Regions from separate parts of the Homo sapiens genome. Here all the other regions are linked to region 2. Evidence: promoter capture Hi-C in 16 types of primary human blood cells and fetal thymus (Javierre and others, 2016). All regions are on one chromosome and are shown on one strand. The core of a region is centred on a gene start or on the middle of the fragment in contact, and the rest is flanking DNA. Distances in the headings are between cores, read along the strand shown.

The links. Contacts are between HindIII fragments. The CHiCAGO score rates a contact against its expected background, and 5 or more counts as called.
Region 1: a contact is called between a fragment that was not itself captured here and the fragment with the promoter of C1orf116 in region 2, in 4 of 17 cell types (naive B cells, total B cells, endothelial precursors and 1 more). The highest score is 5.2, in naive B cells.
Region 3: a contact is called between the fragment with the promoter of CR1L here and the fragment with the promoter of C1orf116 in region 2, in 11 of 17 cell types (neutrophils, total B cells, megakaryocytes and 8 more). The highest score is 12.6, in neutrophils.

The regions. Positions count from the first base shown.
Region 1 is chr1:207,563,410-207,566,871 of GRCh38, forward strand. It overlaps CR1 (complement C3b/C4b receptor 1 (Knops blood group)), which reads left to right. Exons shown (of 47, transcript NM_000651.6): 22 at 455-631; 23 at 723-825; 24 at 2,429-2,514. Among named protein-coding and RNA genes, the nearest start is that of CR1, 69 kb to the left of the region's middle. The HindIII fragment of the contact is 1,317 bases long and covers 1,470-2,786 here.
Region 2 is chr1:207,031,188-207,034,289 of GRCh38, forward strand. C1orf116 (chromosome 1 open reading frame 116) reads right to left here and starts at 1,569. Exons shown (of 4, transcript NM_023938.6): 1 at 1,392-1,569. The HindIII fragment of the contact is 5,727 bases long and covers 1-3,102 here.
Region 3 is chr1:207,643,688-207,647,032 of GRCh38, forward strand. CR1L (complement C3b/C4b receptor 1 like) reads left to right here and starts at 1,446. Exons shown (of 12, transcript NM_175710.2): 1 at 1,446-1,643. The coding sequence starts at 1,547. It also overlaps the pseudogene CD46P1. RefSeq lists a silencer at 1,246-1,415 and an enhancer at 1,476-1,555. The HindIII fragment of the contact is 2,525 bases long and covers 1-1,835 here.

The sequences.
Region 1 (3,462 bases), core at 878-3,377, 530 kb after region 2:
TGTGATAGGTGATGGAGGGACCTATTAGATGGGACATGGGCAGGGGCACTCCTTTATTGCTTAAAATGCAAGACTAAATTGGTGATGCCTTTCTAGAAAGGAAGTATGAAGATACAAAAATCCATCATTCCTCCCAATTTTGTACTGGGTGAACAGTAATTGGAAGCATTCTAGAAGGAACTGTCCATTGTGAAATCTTAGTTGCATACTTTAGATGAAAAACAATGAATTGGAGATACCTCTGTTTTAGTCACAGTTGTGCCATGTGTCAGTTCTATGACTGATGGCAAGACATCTTCCTTGCCCCGTGTATTTAGTTTATCAATGTAATAAGGCTGTTATTCTAACTTTATTATTATATATAGATTCGTAATTATTATTCCCTTGGCCAGTTTAACAGTGAGAAAAAAGTTGTTTTCACACAATTAGCTGTACTTTGTTTCTCTCTCCCCAGTATGTCAGCCACCTCCAGATGTCCTGCATGCTGAGCGTACCCAAAGGGACAAGGACAACTTTTCACCCGGGCAGGAAGTGTTCTACAGCTGTGAGCCCGGCTATGACCTCAGAGGGGCTGCGTCTATGCGCTGCACACCCCAGGGAGACTGGAGCCCTGCAGCCCCCACATGTGAAGGTGACTAGACTCTTATCTGGCTTGATATTTTTAGCTTGCGTCTTTATTCTCCACATGCCAGTGATTTCTGTTCGTTTTTCTTTATCTCCAGTGAAATCCTGTGATGACTTCATGGGCCAACTTCTTAATGGCCGTGTGCTATTTCCAGTAAATCTCCAGCTTGGAGCAAAAGTGGATTTTGTTTGTGATGAAGGGTGAGTATGAGCTTGCCTGACCTGCTGGACATTGAAATTGGGGTTGGGAATCAGTCTAAAAAGGGGAGATTTGGTGTGGCTTAAAAGAAAGACACACACACACACACACACCTTCAGAGAGATGAACTTTCGAAAGTATACCTAGGAAGAAAGGAAAGAAACATATAGAACTAATAACATGAGATATGAAGAGGAAACTGGAACATATATTAACTGGCAAGTTCAAAGGCAAGTATAACTAGTGGTTATGAATATATAGGTAACACATTAAGCAAAAAATATCAGCCAGGCACGGTGGCTCACGTGTGTAATCCCAGCACCTTTGGGAGGTTGAGGCAGGCAGATCACCTGAGGTCAGGAGTTGGAGACCAGCCTGGACAACATGGTGAAACCCTGTCTCTACTAAAAATACAAAAGTTAGCTGGGTTTGGTGGCATGTGCCTGTAATCCCAGCTACTCCGGAGGCTGAGGCACCAGAATCACTTGAACCTGGGAGGTGGAGTTTGCAGTGAGCCGAGATGGCACCATTGCACTCCAGCGTGAACAATGAGTGAAACTCCATCTCAGGAAAAAAATCATATTTTACAAGCAAAAGGGAATATGAGTAATTTAGAGAGTCCCAGGAAAAATTGCAAGTAATGAAAAGCTTATTATTAAAAGCTAGGATCCTTTAAGAATCATTTCAGTAAATTCTTTAAACCATCAACAGTGAAATTTGTAATAGGACTGAAAATGTAAAAATCAGCATTTTTTTAAAAATTCAGTCATATATCTTCTGGCTAGTCATGGGCTCTGGGCTCTGAGCTGGGGTCGTGATGGCTGCTGTTAATATTCCCAGCAAGGTCATTACCTTGTTTATGTCCATCTAGTGCTCTTCACAGCGTGCACATCTCTACACAGGAGCTGACCGGCATGGGCAACAAAGCACCTGATCCCATAATGTAACACAGAATCTTGGCAGCCTCCAAATGCCAGCACCCAGTAAGAGTTAGGAGGGCATCAGGGTCCAAAAGACTGAGAATTTTCGACAATTGCATACAAAAATCATGTCCTCTCTTCTTTCCTTTTTCCCCTAGAATATTCATGCTTACTCTTCAGCAGCCCAAACTGCCCTTTTGAGCCTTCTTCACGCCATCACAGATGTGGAGATGAAAGGACAATCTCTGTTCTCTCGCCAGCTATTTCCCACTTTTCCACTCCAAACTGGGAGCTGTTTTACTTGCTGTTCCAGGGTCAGAGTTAGGAAGGCATTACATTAGAAGACTGGGTTTCTAATAACAACAATGAGTGATTTATCAGGTTATCATGGAGTAATCAGTGAAACTCCAAGCCTGGGTCCTGGGTCAAGGGGATGGCGCCTATGTCATGACCACCTTTTTCAATTCAAGCAGGACTATCATGTGACCAAGCTACTACATTTTGCCATTCTATATTGTTCCCTTCTGGAGGCTGTGATTTTTCCAGAATAAGGTAGCCTGTGCAACTCTGCCATCTGCTGGCCTCAGATCCTCAAAATCCTGAAATTGGGGCTGGGCCTTAGATTGTGAACTAAGTGTCCTCTTGGCTGAAACAGCTCACTATTCACTCCTATTTTCTTCTTTAGATTTCAATTAAAAGGCAGCTCTGCTAGTTATTGTGTCTTGGCTGGAATGGAAAGCCTTTGGAATAGCAGTGTTCCAGTGTGTGAACGTGAGTAATAGGAGCAACATTTCAGGCCAATCTCTCCCCTTCATCTGTTCACTATTTGTCCTATGGCCTCCCTCAATGTGATTCTTCAATATTCTAGTCTTAATTATCGATTTAAAAATAGTTTATTTTAATAATGTTTGGTTGTGAATCAATATGTACATCACCTGTCTTTGCAACCATCTGATCTGTCTCTGTCCTTCTGCATTCTCTGTTCTAGTGCGATAAATCCTTTGGTCTTGTGCTCCTAGGTCAGGAGAGATTAGATAATGTGAAGCTTTAACAATTTTCTTTCTTTCTCTAGTTTTTTCTTTCTTTTTTCTCTTCCTTCCATCCTTCAGTTCTTTCTTCCCTTCTTCTCTCCTTCTCCCCTTTCTTCTTTCCTTCCTCCCTTCTTTCTTTTTCATTTTGTTCTCCCATCAAAGTGCAGTCAGTCTACAATTTATATATATATGATAATACACAAATATTGAACATGGCTTTATTTAATCAATATTTATTGATCACATACTTTGTGCCTGATGTTCATCTAGCCACTGGAGTTATATCAATGAACAAGATGGATGAATTCCCTGTCCCCATGTTGTTTCTACTTAGGTGGGGAGAGGGACAAGAAAAAAAATAAATTCAATGCTATGAGACAATAGAGCAAAGCACTGAGGAATGAGGCAAAAATGGGGAGCAACATTAGACAGGGTGAGCAGTTTGAGACTCCTTAAATTCTCAAAACATGTACCTAAATAATTTATGCTGAGAGATTCATAAATAATAAGTCATTTTTTTAAAATGAGCCTCATATGTTCAATAATCAGTAGACTACTGATTTCTCCTAGTCTACCCATGTATAATTTCCCCAATGGAAGATAGAACTTTGCTTCAATTCTTGATTCTAATGATTGGAAAACGTGTTTCTTTAGAAAATCATGAAATTTTACTAAAATGTTTATGTTG
Region 2 (3,102 bases), core at 319-2,818:
AAAAATAGCAGAATGACTAAAACTTGCACAGTTTGCATATCTGTCTCCATGAACACATGGGCAAGTTTCTGTGTGTGTTTAGGCAACATTATCATCTTCCCTTTCACCAGTGTGTTTGAGGGAAGGAGCAGGTAGAAATACCCTCTGCATAGCAGAGCTTTGTTAGACACTGCCAGTGGTCTTTATTCCTAAATTCACCATCTAGGGCAGCCCTCAGTCTGTGAGTGTGGGGTGTTGGCTCTGTGGTGTGAGGTGAGCTCAAGCCTAAATCTCCAGTTGCCAGGACTGGAAAACCCATATATTCACTCAGGGCTGCGTGTGCCAGGCCCTTGAGCCTGGCACTGAGGGCTTCCCACTTCCCTCTTCTCTGCAGCAGGAGGAAAAGAGTCAAAGTTAGGGACCAAAGGGTTAAACCCCCCAAGATGGATAATGGAGAGGCAACTTGCTACTCTGACTCGACTCCTACATCTGCCTTCCTTCTGCAGGTAAATCTGCCACACAAACTGCCAACTGGGACACCTGCAGGAAAACAAACAAAGCCACCACCCTGGTCTGCTTCTCTGTCTGTGGACTCTGCCACACTACCTTGGCTTGAGCCCCACTTGGAACTCTAACTAGACTTGACATGCAGCCACGAAATATTCATGTGGGTGAGGCTCGGCACAGCCAGGTAGCTTTCTGTTTGCCAGTCTCTGTGTCTATTAACAGGCTGAGTCAGAAAGTTAATTGAGTAGAATCCAAATAAACTTGACTTTGCAGCTAGATTATCCATGGGTTTTCCAAAGATGAGCTGGTAGCTGAAGTTTTCTCCATGTGCCCCAACCTCATATCCCTTTACAAACAACCTAGTACAGCTCATGCCTAACACACCTGTACACAGAGAGCTCCATTATCACATGAGCATGATCAAACACACACACACATTGCACCCATTATTTAAATAAAGATCGACACCGAGTTGGTAAAGCCACGGGAGAATTTCCTGTTACAGTCGCTATGGAAAACCAAGATACTCTCCCCCATTTTGACTCCCTCTATTTCAACTGTTCTTTTCTAAAATCACAACTCAATTTCAATTGTTCAGAGATGGAAATTTCCAAAACAAATCTATTTTCTTTTTCTTGTTGTTTGCACAATATGCCTATCCAACCTAAAGGGATAAATGAAAAAGAAGGTGCCTCCCAGCCCCAGTCTCCACAAAAACACTACAATCTCAAGTTGCTACCAACCTGATCTGATCCCAGAATGGACTCAGAGAATTGAGGAACAGAGAGGAAATCTCCCTAGCTGGGGTATAGAGGGACACCTCCCCTCCCCTGTAGCTCTGATTTCCCATGAAACCCCTTCCTATTGCTATAGGATAAGCAATAGTTGGTTAGTGATTAACTCACCTCCACTGGGTTGGGGGCTGAAGAGAGAAAAGAAATACCCTTTTGTTTCAAAGGGCAGAGATGGAGACAGAGGCTGCTTCCCCTGCCTCCTACTGTTTTCTTCTCCTTTTGAGCTCCTCCTGACTTACCTAGATAGGTAAATGCTTCATCTGTGCTGCCTGGCCCCCACCCTGCCACTGACTCAGCCAATCCTAGCCTCCCCTCCCTACCTCTCATTCCAGCTGTTTCCTCAGGGAGGGAATGGGAGGGGAATGAGCAGGGTGGTGCTGTTCCCTCTTAGCCAATCATCTCCTACCCTCCCCTTTCCTGTTTAGAGCTAATAAAGAGCTCTTTAAAAAAGGAGGGCTGGAAGGAGGAGGAGCCGGTTTGGGCTGAGACTGGAAGGACAGGTGGCAGGGAGGGAGTAGGCAGAGATAGTATATATATTTAATGTTGATATAAAGGAACGCAGACAGTCCTCTGGGCAGTGTGCTTTTCCATAGGTCTATGTGAAACAGGTTTTTCATCTAGAACTACCTTCTTCCGCTTGGAGCTTAGTTTTCCCCTGAATTCTCTAGGCTAAACTCATTTGTGTTCAGTTTTGCTGCTAGCTTTTCTAGATGTTGAAAGTCACTTTCTTCCCCAAGCCTAATCCTAGCTCATAAGCCTAGCAATTCCATTCATGTCCACTGAAGAAGGTGTCCCCAGGCTAGGGATGCTGTAGTTGGGCCAGTCTCGCCCCAGTGCTTGCCAACAATCTCCTTGGCCTAATTTATTTCTGGGGGAAATAAAACCATTCATCCCCTAAGAGGTCCGTGTCCTGATGAAAGAGTGACTGGACAGCTTGAAAGGAGAGAGCATGCACTCTGTCATTTGGTCCTCTGCTCTCTTTTGGCTGTTCATGGAAGGTGGCAATACATATTATGAAATAAAAACAAAACAAACTACCAACCAGTTTAGCAACTCTTGTCTCCTTTCATGGACTGATACTTGGCATTCGTAGGGAGAAGAGAGTAGGTAGAAGAATCTACTATTTTTGGGAAGAAATTTCCCACCAGGTACAGAGACCACTCTTAACAGATATGATTTTTGCCTGGAAGCTGGTTTTTCCTACAGGTAGATTATCCTTGATAGGTATCAGGATTTGAGGTATTCCACTTACTAGCATTAAAAGGTCAGGGAGAAAATTTAAAATCAATGTACACAATAATTGCCAAAATGTATTAAGCTCTTGCTATTTGCTAGGTATTGTGCTGAGCATTTTCATGTATCTTTTAATTTAGTCTTTAACTTAAAAAAGTAGGCATTTGTTAATATCTAAATTTTACAGGGAGGTTAAAAATCTTTTTCAAGGCCATGTAGCTAGGAAGAGGCAGGGCAGAGATTTTAATTCAGGCAGTATAACATCAAGGTTGCTATGAATCAGCATAATGCCAATCCGCCTCTATTTTGGAAGGAATCTCAAGTGGGAATCATGAAATACACAGATAATTTGCAAGTGTAATTCTAGCTATTAGATTCGTCCTTTTCTGTTTCATTTCCTACTTAAAGCTATTAATATGTTTTATAACAAGACGACACATGGCTTTCATCTTTTCTCTTTCTGTGATCATGGTTGGATAGGAAATAAAAAGGGCAGTGATCCTGGGGCCAAGGTAAAGATGAAGTGGAGCAGGACTAATGGATAGGAAGGAGGTTGGAGGAAGCCTGGGATAACCCAGTACCCTATCAG
Region 3 (3,345 bases), core at 196-2,695, 610 kb after region 2:
CACTATCCTCTCATACAAACCCTGTGTAATACAAGTTCTACTCCCATAATTCTATGAACAAAACAACAATTGATACATAGATTTGATTTTTAAAATACATTTTCTTTACCTTATTCTAAATGTAACATAGGGTCAACATAGAAAAAGAAAACTGAAAAGCACAAGGAAAGTGAAATATCTATAATCTTAACCATTGTTAATTTTGTTGTGTTCCAAATTAGTGTATGTATATATATATATATATATATAGCATTTTTGTTTTAATAAAAGGACTGCCAAAATGCACATGCCAATTTGGACTCTGCTTTTTCCACTTACAATGATATCATAGTTTCTCACATTTGGTATTCTTTTGCAATACTTGCTGCATAGAATTCCATCACACAAAGGTAACTGCCTCCTTATTACTTTTGCTAGACACTTAGGGTTTACATTTTTTACAAAAATTATAAATCTTTGATCACAGCTCTGATGATTTCTCTGGGAACTGAGAGCCTAACACAAGTCATTTCCACTTTAAGACTTTTAACATTCTGAAAAGTTATGTTACAAACAGAGTGCTGGTCCCCCTGCAACATGTTCACTCACATTGGCTGACGTTTTAATTCTTTGCCAATCTGAGGGGAAGAGATGTCAACTTTTTTTGTTTGCTCTTTTAATGCCAGTCATGTTCCCTTTTTTTTTCCCCCTTTTACCAGTCATACTGGCTTACTCAGAACCCTACAAATCAATCCTGCTCATTCTTAATTTTCCAACATTGTTCCTGAGATTGTTTCACCAGAAAAGTTCTCCCCCTTATCCACTTCGCCTAACAATTTCTACCCATCCCAATCCTCCTGCATTTATTGCTTCCAGGAATTTGGCACTTAGGACACCCTTGTCCTTACATTGTTCATGCATGTATATTTCGTCTTCAATAAAACATTTAGTTGCTCAAGGGCAAGGGTCCCATAGAGTCTCAATATGCTAACGGCCTGGTGTTGCTTAATAATTTAGATTCTGACGGGTCCTCTCCAGGGAGGGGAGCAAAGGGCAAATTATCTTAGGGGCTGGGAGTGCAGAAGCCAAACCTTTGAGACTGTGAAAAGAAGACGGCGCCGAGACGATTCAGTAGCAGGCATTCAAGCAAGAAAAACTCAAATATTGTTCCCAATAATGCCTGACTAATGCCAAATACCAAGTAAGGGCCCAGGCAGTCCTGACAGCCTGCAGTGCCCCAGGATAAAACTAACCCTGAGGGGTGCTAGCCCACGATAACCCCCTGCCAGGGCTCTGGACACGCCCTGTCTCCTCGAAGGCCAACGGGCTGCCCCTGCGCGCCGAGGCCCCGCCCCGCGGCCCGCCGATTGGCCCCAGCCGCCCCGGCGCTAAGACTCAATTTCACACTACGCGCCCAGGCCACGCCCACCTGTCATGCGGCCCTGGAAACTGTGAGTTTGGGGATTGTTGTGTCCACTAACCGGACTCAGAAGGGACTTCCCTGCTCGGCTGGCTTTCGGTTTCTCTGCTCACCTCCGGATAAATCACGGGGTCTCCCGCGCCGCTCATGGCGCCTCCCGTCCGTCTCGAGCGTCCCTTTCCTTCCCGGCGCTTTCCTGGGTTGCTTCTGGCGGCCCTGGTGTTGCTGCTGTCCTCCTTCTCCGGTAGGACCCCGGGGTGGATTCGCGCGTCCGCGGCGAGGCTAGAGCTCTGCTCAGTCAGTCGGGCAGGAGGCGCGGGGCGAAGCTCACTGCACGTCGTGCCTGCTTGGGATAGAGAGCGAGGCCAGGGTTCTCCGAGGGGTGCCGTGCTCAGATCCCGGGGGTATGTGGCGGGGGATGCGGGAACCACGCAGAAGCTTGTTTGGTGGCATCGTGTGCGCGGCCGACATTTACGCAGGATCTGGCTGCGTTCCCAAAAGAAGCGTGAATCGTGTTTTCGGGATTGAGCCCAGTCAGCAAGGGGAGGGCTTACTGGGCGCCCCAGGTGAGGGCTTGCTCTGGAGTGCACAGGTGCGTGGGATTGTTGCTAGAGCCCGTGCTGTGCCCGTGGTGAGAGTTTGCCCTGTGTTCCCTTGGTGCCTTGGTGAGTAGGGTGTTCATTAGGGCTTGGACAGTACCCGCGGTAAGGGTTGCAGTGCGTCTGCTGTGCCCCATGGGCTGGGCTGGCCTGGGCTGGGCTGGGCGAGCAGGGGCCTGGCCAGGTGTTGCTGGGAGCGTGCTGTGCGCAAGTGGCCTGTGTGCGGAGTTCACTGTGGGCAAGACAGCTCACTGTTTGCTTTGAGTGGAGCGAGCGCGGACTCTGCGGCTAGGGAGGGCATGTTGAGTGAGAGCAGGCTCTCAGTGCCTGGGGTTAGAGAGGTGGTAAGGGCGCACCATGCTTTTAGTGCCTTCTGTGAACAGTGTCCGTGTTGCCTGAGATCGTATTGGTCTTGAATTTTAAGTGGCTGCTTTTTTGGGGGGTGGGTGGGCCATCGAGTCATCTTCCTGTTCCCAACCAATATAGACAGTATCTGATTCCATTGCCTAGTGGCTTTTTGACATTGTTTTCCTTCTTTTCATTAGTTTGAGTCATATTTGAGAGATGTGAAGCAACCTAAAAAACACTGGTAGCCAAACCTAGTGAGAAATTAGTATCCTAACAAAGGAAGGCAGATAATGTTAATCTTGTTTTCCCCTACAGCTCATAAACTGAAGCTTAAGGCCTATCCCACTGTTTTGTATTTCATTGAATGGAATCAATATTTTTAAAAATGCATGCTAGGCCAGGCCCAGTTGCTCACACCTGTGATCCCAGCACTTTGGGAGGCCCAAGTTGGGTGATTGCTTAAGCCCAGGAGTTCAAGATCAGCCTGGACAACATGTCAAAACCCCATGTCTACAAAAAATAAAAAAATTAGATGGGCATGGTGGTGTATGCCCGTGGTCCCAACTACTCCAGAGGCTGAGGTGGGAGGATCGCTTGAGCCCAGGAGGAGAAGACTGCAGTGAGCTGTGATCATGCCACTGCACTCCAGCCTGGATGACAGTGTGAGACCCTGTCTCAAAAAAAAAAAAAAAAAAAAAAAAAGCCAAAAAATACATGCTTAAATACAGGCTTATTGTGCAAAATGAACAAAATAAAAGGACAACTGTTTTTAATATTTTGTTATATTTCCTTCTGACTTTATTGTGTTTCATGTGTATCTATGTCCAAATTATATTTAGGATCTTATTCCATGTACAGATTGTACGTTGCATTTCTTCTCTTAGGAACATTCATTCAACAAATATGGGTCTTGTATGTCTGGTGCTGTTACACTAGTAGGTAATAACAGACAATTCCTATTTTCTTTATCCTTTTTTTACTATTTGTTTACACACACGT